Linked DNA regions of Homo sapiens: region 2 is linked to region 1. Evidence: promoter capture Hi-C in 16 types of primary human blood cells and fetal thymus (Javierre and others, 2016). All regions are on one chromosome and are shown on one strand. The core of a region is centred on a gene start or on the middle of the fragment in contact, and the rest is flanking DNA. Distances in the headings are between cores, read along the strand shown. Region 1 holds the start of TAOK2 (TAO kinase 2). Region 2 overlaps QPRT (quinolinate phosphoribosyltransferase).

Evidence for each region. Contacts are between HindIII fragments. The CHiCAGO score rates a contact against its expected background, and 5 or more counts as called.
Region 2: a fragment that was not itself captured here is called in contact with the fragment with the promoter of TAOK2 in region 1 in 13 of 17 cell types (total CD8 T cells, activated CD4 T cells, M0 macrophages and 10 more); the score reaches 13.2 in total CD8 T cells.

The regions. Positions count from the first base shown.
Region 1 is chr16:29,971,959-29,975,819 of GRCh38, reverse strand. TAOK2 (TAO kinase 2) reads right to left here and starts at 1,952. Exons shown (of 16, transcript NM_016151.4): 1 at 1,172-1,952. TMEM219 (transmembrane protein 219) reads right to left here. Exons shown (of 6, transcript NM_001083613.2): 6 at 2,772-2,870. It overlaps LOC124903762, which reads right to left and starts at 2,198. Exons shown (of 2, transcript XM_047435036.1): 1 at 2,040-2,198; 2 at 1,185-1,823. The coding sequence starts at 2,198. The coding sequence ends at 1,185. RefSeq lists enhancers at 1-60, 862-991, 698-1,469 and a silencer at 1,893-2,262. The HindIII fragment of the contact is 1,984 bases long and covers 265-2,248 here.
Region 2 is chr16:29,698,386-29,702,246 of GRCh38, reverse strand. It overlaps QPRT (quinolinate phosphoribosyltransferase), which reads right to left. Exons shown (of 4, transcript NM_014298.6): 4 at 3,548-3,861. Among named protein-coding and RNA genes, the nearest start is that of QPRT, 21 kb to the right of the region's middle. RefSeq lists a cis regulatory region at 1,247-1,849 and a silencer at 2,620-2,794. The HindIII fragment of the contact is 1,642 bases long and covers 1,105-2,746 here.

The sequences.
Region 1 (3,861 bases), core at 703-3,202:
AACACCATGCAGACACTCAGCATATGGATTTTTCCTTCCCTGCCTCCAAGGTCCCCACAAAGCTTTAATCCTTTGGGGGATCATTCTACCCCAACAGCTTGGCTTGAACAGTTAAAAGATGCCACTAGTGCTACCATTTGTCAGGAGAGAGCCCTCTCAGGAATCCAGGCCAAACCCTGGGATTGGGGTAAAGATGAAGGTCACAGTGGATAGAAAACTCCATGAGGCAGAGGCAAAAGCCAGAGGCTCCCATCAGGAAAAGCTTCTGAGTAGAGCCCTCCTGGAAAGGAAGCTCATCTCATCCCCATTCTTAAACCTCACCCCAGCCTGGACTCCTAGGGACCCCTGGCCGAGCCCAAACTCAGAGGAAAAGAGATGGCAAGAACCAGGCATGCATCAGGGAAAGATGTGATTGAGGACTTGAGTTCAAATTCTGGTTCTGCCACTGTGTGACCTTGGGCAACCTCTCTCGGCCTCAACGTTCTCAACTGTAAAATGGGAAGATGCCAATAAAAGAGGCCCCCACAGGGTGAATGCGGGGATGTCACATGAGAGAATGGCTGTCAAAGCACTTTGTAAAAGACAGATCGTTTGACAAATGGATGAGATTATTGACACCATCACAGCAAGAGGTTGGAAGGTAACTGCAGCTGGGGGAAAACATTGCCAGGCACCTCCAAGCACACACACACACGCATACACACAAACACATATACACACACTTCCTTGCAAGGACAAGAAATCCAACCAGACCAGGCCTGAAAAGCAGATAAGCAGACCCACCATGGGAATCAGAGGCATGGGAATCAAAACCACAGAATAGCCAGGAGAACGGGACATATCAGGGAGGAGAGGTGGCTGTGAGGGGCAAAGTGAAGGAGAGAAGACTGAAGTGCAAATCCATCTGATTAGCTGAAGCACCCTAGGGTGTGAACGCCGGTGACATCAGAGACCCTGTCACCTGAGGTCCCCCACCAACCAGACACAATGAAGGGAAGAGGAAGGGGAAGGGGGTGGCAACAGAAGGCAAGGCTAGCCAGAGGCTGACCACTCGCTCAGCTGGGCTTCCCCATCCTGAGAGGGCCTACCCAAGTCCAGCTTCTCAGAAAGGCGCACCCTTTCTTCTCAGAACTAGACACAGGGACCCGCGCCCCTGCACCCCGTGTCTCACCTGGTAGGGGTCACTATGGTGCCCCAGCGCCTCCGCTTCCGCCTGGGGTCCTCCAGCGGCTCTGCCAAGCAGGGAGAGGGGCAAGGAGACCTTTCCCCTTGCCACCTCTTCCTCGGCTTTCGCCCTTCCTGAGGGGCGGGCCCGGGAAGCCTCCCCTGGAGGGGAGGGGGTGACAACCTAATCTGACCTCGCGGTCCAGTCCTCCCCCTCGTCGAGGGCGACAGCTGCCGAATTCCGGATTTCTGATTGTGGGGTCTGAACCCCGAATATCTGAACGGGATGGAGACTGAATCCGATATTTGAACGCCCGGGGAATGAACCCCGGATACTGGTGCACGCAGGGGCCTGAACCTGATATTTGAAATTCTATGAAACAGAGACCCAGGTTTAGAGAGGTTGGGACCCGAGTCCCGGATATCTGGACTATGAGGACTGTTACCCGGGTATCTGAGAAAGGAGGAGGGGCAAAGCCTGGAAATTTGGGACCCAGGGGCCTGAGCTGTAGGTCTTCGGCCACCGACTGGGGGCCCACCCCGAGGACGTCCGGCCGCACGGCCCCTCTCACGCCGGGGTCCGAGGGTGACAGCCCCCACTCCCGCCCCGGCCTCCTCCCTCTCCCTTCTCTCTTCCGAGAATAGCTGAACGATTGTAGCTAAGGTGCTGCTGACGGTCCCCGCGCCCTCTCTGCCTCTCCTCTTCTCCGTCTCAGCCTCTCTCCGCACCACAGCCCCGGTCTCGTCCCGGTCTCCCTCTCCCTCTTCCTCCCAATTCCAAGATGGAGACCGGGCGGGAGCGCGCAGGCGCGGTAGGGACGCCGGGCTAAAGGGGGCGGGGGCGCAGAGGACTCAGCCCCGCCCTCTCTCCTCACTGCCGCGGCCTGGGAGACCGGCAGCCGCCAAGCCCGAGTGCGCGCCCGCCCCGCCACGCGGACCCCAGGCCGGAGGAGGCGGGGAGAAGAGCTAGACTTGCAAGGGGAGGAGCCCGGCACTCTGTCCCACGACTGGCGGTGGACAGAGCTGCAGCGCATGCGCTCGCCCCGCCTTCGCTCTGAGCCCGAGCTTGTTGCTAGGGGAAGCTTTGAGGGGGCGCGGGTGGACGGACAGCAGCGGCGATCTGCGACTGCGCGCAGGGTGGAAGTTGGGAGGGGCAAAGGAAGCTGCTGCTGGGCGCGGAAAAGGCGGGAAAATAGACTGCTCCGAGGTTAGCAACCATCTAACCTGGAAAAGGGCCTCCAAGTGCGAGGAATCTTTGCGCGTCGACGCTGGGAAAACTCAATCGGTCAAATCTCTTACGGAAATTGAGGCGCTGCAGGTTGCAAGACTTGCCAAGGTCACAGTGCATTTATGTCACAGCATTTCCATGACCTGACACCCCACCCGCCCAACTAACTGTAATTATCCATTTTATTTCGTAGAAGAAAACAAGACAGGTGTTTACCAAAGCCAAGTCAACCATGGGGAGAGCTCAAGTAACCTATGCCCTATGCCAACCTGTGTCCAAACTAGAGAGTCAACAGGAAAGAGTCCCCCAAAACTTCTAAGCCTGCCTACCCTAAAATCCCCACCTCAATCCAACCCCCAATAAACACCATACACGCCACTGGGCAAAAAAGCTTTTTATTTTCCCCCACATTCCAGCTCTTCACTTTTTCTAAAACCTTTTCCAACTCAGAGCCAAGGCCCAAGAAGTTGATTCACACCTGGGGAGAAAGAAAATAAAACAACAAAACAGGTCGAAGAGCTGCTAGAGGAAGCTCTGAGATGTGTGCAGAAATTGAGGAAGGAGCAGAGGGAGTGACAGCTAGAGACCAATACGGGCATTTAATCCCAACTAAGGTAGCCTCAGGACCCCAGGGTCTGTCAGGGGCCAGGAAGCCCTCCTTTCCCAGTCCAAGGTTGAGAGGGTCCTGTCATTTCCTGTCCCAAGTAGGTGGTTGGGGCATTTAGGCCCAGCCATCAGCAAAATAAGCACAGTTGATCTTGAGCTTCCACTTCCTCTGGCCTGATCAGTTCCCTGGGCCTCAACTATTTCCACTTTTCCCATAGTAACTTCCTAGGGCACTGCAGCCAGCTGAAGCTGAGACCAGTTCAAGAGCTGGATGCATAACACATGGCTCTCAAATTTCATGCACCCCCCTCTGACAAGTGAAGATTTTTTGCAGAAATATTTTTTCCTTTAGTGAGCTGATGTGTGAACTGGTTAACCAACATGACCCCCACCCACTGCTACGTTTGTGAAGCTGATTCCCTCCAAAGATCTTGTTAACGGAATCAGCTTTTTCTAAAGGTAACGATGACTAAATGGAAGACAGAAGGTGCATGTCAAGTTCTTGGGCACATACTATGTCCCCAGTAAATGAGTATCATCAGTTAGACTCTTCTGAGCGGTTCAAGTTGAATTTTACAAAATTTCCATCATAAAACTGGGTATTGGAATTTCAGGACAAAAGCAAGACAAACATGGTTCATATTCAGGACAAATCATCAAATGTGAACCCTCTTAACTCACCATTGTTACCCAAATGCTTGGATGTGAACTAGTTATGAGTCTTAAAATCACAATGTTGCTTGAAAGAAGTCAGCCACAAAAGAATGTGTATGATTCTGTCTACATAGTTTCAAAAATAAGTAAAACCAAACTATATTATTTAGGAATACATACATGGCAATACATTATAAAGCAGGACAGTA
Region 2 (3,861 bases), core at 676-3,175, 270 kb after region 1:
TTTTTTTGGGACAGAGTCTCACTCTGTCGCCCAGGCTGGAGTGCAGTGGCATGATCTCGGCTCACTGCAACCTCTGCCTTTGAGGTTCAAGTGATTCTTGTGCCTCAGCTTCCTGCGTAGCTGGGTTACAGGCACCCGCCACTACGCCTGGCTAATTTTTGTGGGTTTTTTGTTTTTGTTTTTTGAGACAGAGTTTCGATCTTGTTCCCCGGGGTGGAGTGCAGTGGTGTGATCTCGGCTCATGGAAACCTCCGCCTCCCGGGTTCAGCGATTCTCCTGCCTCAGCCTCCCAAGTAGCAGTAGCTGGTACTACAGGCACATGCCACCACGCCCAGCTAAGTTTGTATTTTTAGTAGAGAAGGGATTTCCCCATGTTGGTCAGGCTAGCTTTGAACTCCTGACCTCAGGTGATCCACCTGCCTTGGCCTCCCAGAGTGCTGGGATTACAGGCGTGAGCCACCGTGCCTGGCCTTGCTGTTTTTAAATGCTTTTACCTTTCACGGCCTCAGCACACTAAAACTCATATCCACTGAGGTGACTCACTGTCAATCTGGTTTGACCTCTTGCCATCTTTGACCTCTAGATTGAGTGCCCCAGTTCTGGGCTTCTGTAGCATCGGATGGTGGGTGGGCGGAGGGGTGGGAAGAGTGATGAGTGGATGGAAGCACAAGGGGGTGGATAGGATGGGTCGGGGGTGGACAGGATGGGTCGGGGGTGGACAGGATAGATGGGGGTGGACAGGATGGGTGGGGGTGGACAGGATGGATGGGTGTATTACCGAAACGCCAGGGATTCAGTCTAGGTCCCATTGCTTACTGCACAGAAAGCTGATCTGGGATCCCGGGACAATGAGTATCGCCAGGAAAGAAGGCTTTATTCAGATGACATCTGCCAAGGAGACAGGAGATAAGTCTCAAATCCATCTCTCCAACAAACTCCAATTGGGGGTTTATATAGTGGGGAGCAAATGTAGCTGTGGGTGGGAAAACAGGAATTAGAGGGGGGTAAAGAAAAGGAGTTTCAGTTCCTTGATGCTATCTGGGAGGCCTGAGGGTCAGTTTCCTGGGGAAGGAACTCAGATAAGGCAAATTTAAGTTTCAAGCTTTAAGACCAGGAATGTCAATTTCTGTGTTTATCCAAAAAAAAAAAAAAAAAAAAAAAAATCTATGGGACAATTTGGCCAGTTTCCGGTGGGCAGGACAGCAGGTGGAAGGGGCGAGGGGCGCGGGTGGGTGGGTGAGGAGGAGGACAGGCATCAGGTGAGCGGATGGATGGGGTTGGTGGGTAACCCAGACAGTATTTGGGAGGGGATGGGTGGCTGGGAGTGAATGTGAGTAGCTGGTGAATCTGGAGTACACGGGGCTTTGAAAAGTCACAGGGGTACCCTGGGCAGTTGGATGGGGGTCTGATGAGGGGATGAGGCTGGAAAAGTGGGTGGAGAAAAAACTGCTGCCAATGCCTCCTCGCGTTGATTCTTGAGCAGATGCTATGCTGCGTATTCATAGCCTCCTTGGCTATTGCCTTCGGAATCCGGAAAGGGAGCTGGAATTAGAGACGAACGGAGGGCCGCGTGGTTGCAGTGCCCTCTGGTGGCCATCAGGGGTGGCCATCAGGACAATTGGTGTCTACATATTTTCCTTAAGTATTTTTTCATTGTCTATTCTTCCCCGCCCCCACCCCAACCCCAACATACAGACTCCCTGAGGACAGAGATTTTTATCTGTTTACTCGTTGTATGTTCATTGTCTAGAATAGTGCCTGGCACACAGTAGATGCTCAGTTAAATATTGAATGAGTGAATGACACAATTCAAACTGCTCCACCACTTTATATATTTATTTATTTATTTATTTTTGTTTGAGACAGGGCCTCTGTCACCCAGGCTGGAGTGCAGTGGTGCAGTCACAGCTCACTGCAGCCTCAACTGCCCAGGCTTAAGCGATCCTCTCACCCCAGTCTCCTGAGTAGCTGGGACTACAGGTGTGCACCACCACAGCTGGATAATTTTTTAAAAATAGAAATTGAGTCTCACTATGTTGCCCAGGCTGGTCTTGAACTCCTGGGCTCAAGTGATCCTCCTGCCTCAGCCTCCCAAAGTGCTGAGATTACAGGTGTGAGCCACCATGACTGGCCTCCACCACTTTATTGATGAGTGACCCTAAGCAGCTCTCTTAACTTTATAAAGCCTCAGTCTCCTCTTCGGTAAGTGGAGAGGCTAACGCCCGCCCCCACGAGCATTAACTGAGGGAAGGGGACCTGCACACCCTGGATGAAGGTGCTCCCTGCTAGCTCCCGTCTCATGCAGTAGCCAGCATTGCTGGCACATCCCGTACTCACAACAGCATATCATTTTCATTAAACAAACTGCTATGATGGGCACATTTGCCATTGTCTGTGGGGCATCCTGGGGAAATGATCCCAGCTTGGTCCTAGGCTGGCCAGGCAAAGAGGAAGTGTAGCCAGATGGACAAGGGACTGGGAGGTGATGCATAAGAGTCCTTGCCTGCCACGCATGCCCCATTTCCCCACCCCCTCAGTCACACCCAACTCTTCCAACTGCCTTGAGCCATCGAACTCCCTCTGCCTTCTGAAGCTCTGAAGACACTGTATCACTTCTCTCCAAACCCCATGGCCATGACCCACACTCAAGTCCTCTTCCACAGCTCCTCCTGGCCTCCCTGCAGCTGCTCTAGCCCCCTCAAATGCATCCTTCTGCAACGGACTGGATTGAAGCTGCGAATAAGCTTATCTGATTTTCCAGCTTGATTTCCAGCTCACTCATGAGACAGAGTCCAAATCCTCCGATCTACCATTTTGTGGTCTGGACCCAGCCCATCTCCTAGCCACCTCCTGATCACAGCTTCAAATCTTACAGCAAACAATCCAAGCCACCTCTGCCCATGCATCTCCCCTGCCTGGAAATCCATTTCCCTGCAAGGAGGGCGTGTGTTGCCCTAGAGTGCCCAGGATCCATTTCCTGTTCCCCCAGTAATGGAGTGCCCGCCCCAGCTCTCAGAGCTGGAGGATACTGGAGGGCTAACCCATTTCTGGGTTTAGGGGGAGCTTAAGACTCAGGCAGGCAGGTTCCTTTCGCTTTTTTAATGGAACGCTGTGGCTGCAACGAGCATTTTCCAGTTGGCCACAGCGCACCCCCACTTTGTCTTATTCCAGTTCCACCCATTTATTTTATCCGAATAGGTCCTGGAGGCACCGAGTTTGCAGCTCCTGGTACCCTCTCCTCACTTCTGCTCTGTCAGGCCCCAATGCCTGCCCAGATCCCAGATCCCAGTTCCCAGATCACCCCGGGGCTCAACTTTCCTCCCTTGATGCCCAGTGGAACCCCTGGTCCCATGGGGCTTCAGTTTCCCCAGTTCAGGCATAAGAAGCTGGGGTTCATCTGAGCGTGTCCATGTTCCCCCTGGAGGAAGGACGGGAGCAGGCAGGGTGGAGCTGGGATTAGAGGGGACAGGGCAGCTGCAGGTGGCACCTCTGGGCTGTGTCCTCTTGTAGCAGGACGAGCCACAGACAAAACTCCTCAGGCACCGGATTAAAGAAGGAAGAGGTTTATTTGGCCAGGAGCATTGGCAGACTTGCATCTTAATAGCTGAGATCCCTGAAAAAGAAATTCTTGGCCTTTTTAAAGGCTTACAACTCTAAGGGGTCCACGTGAAAGGGTCATGATATCTCAAGCAAGCGGGGAACGTGACTGGGGGCTACACGCATCAGCTAACAGAGCAGAAAGTTTTGCAATGCTTTTTCATACAATGTCTGGAATTTACAGATAACACAAGTAGTTTAGGTCAGGGGTTGATATTATTATTATTGTTACTTTTTTTTAACTACCAGGGCCGGGTGGTGTCG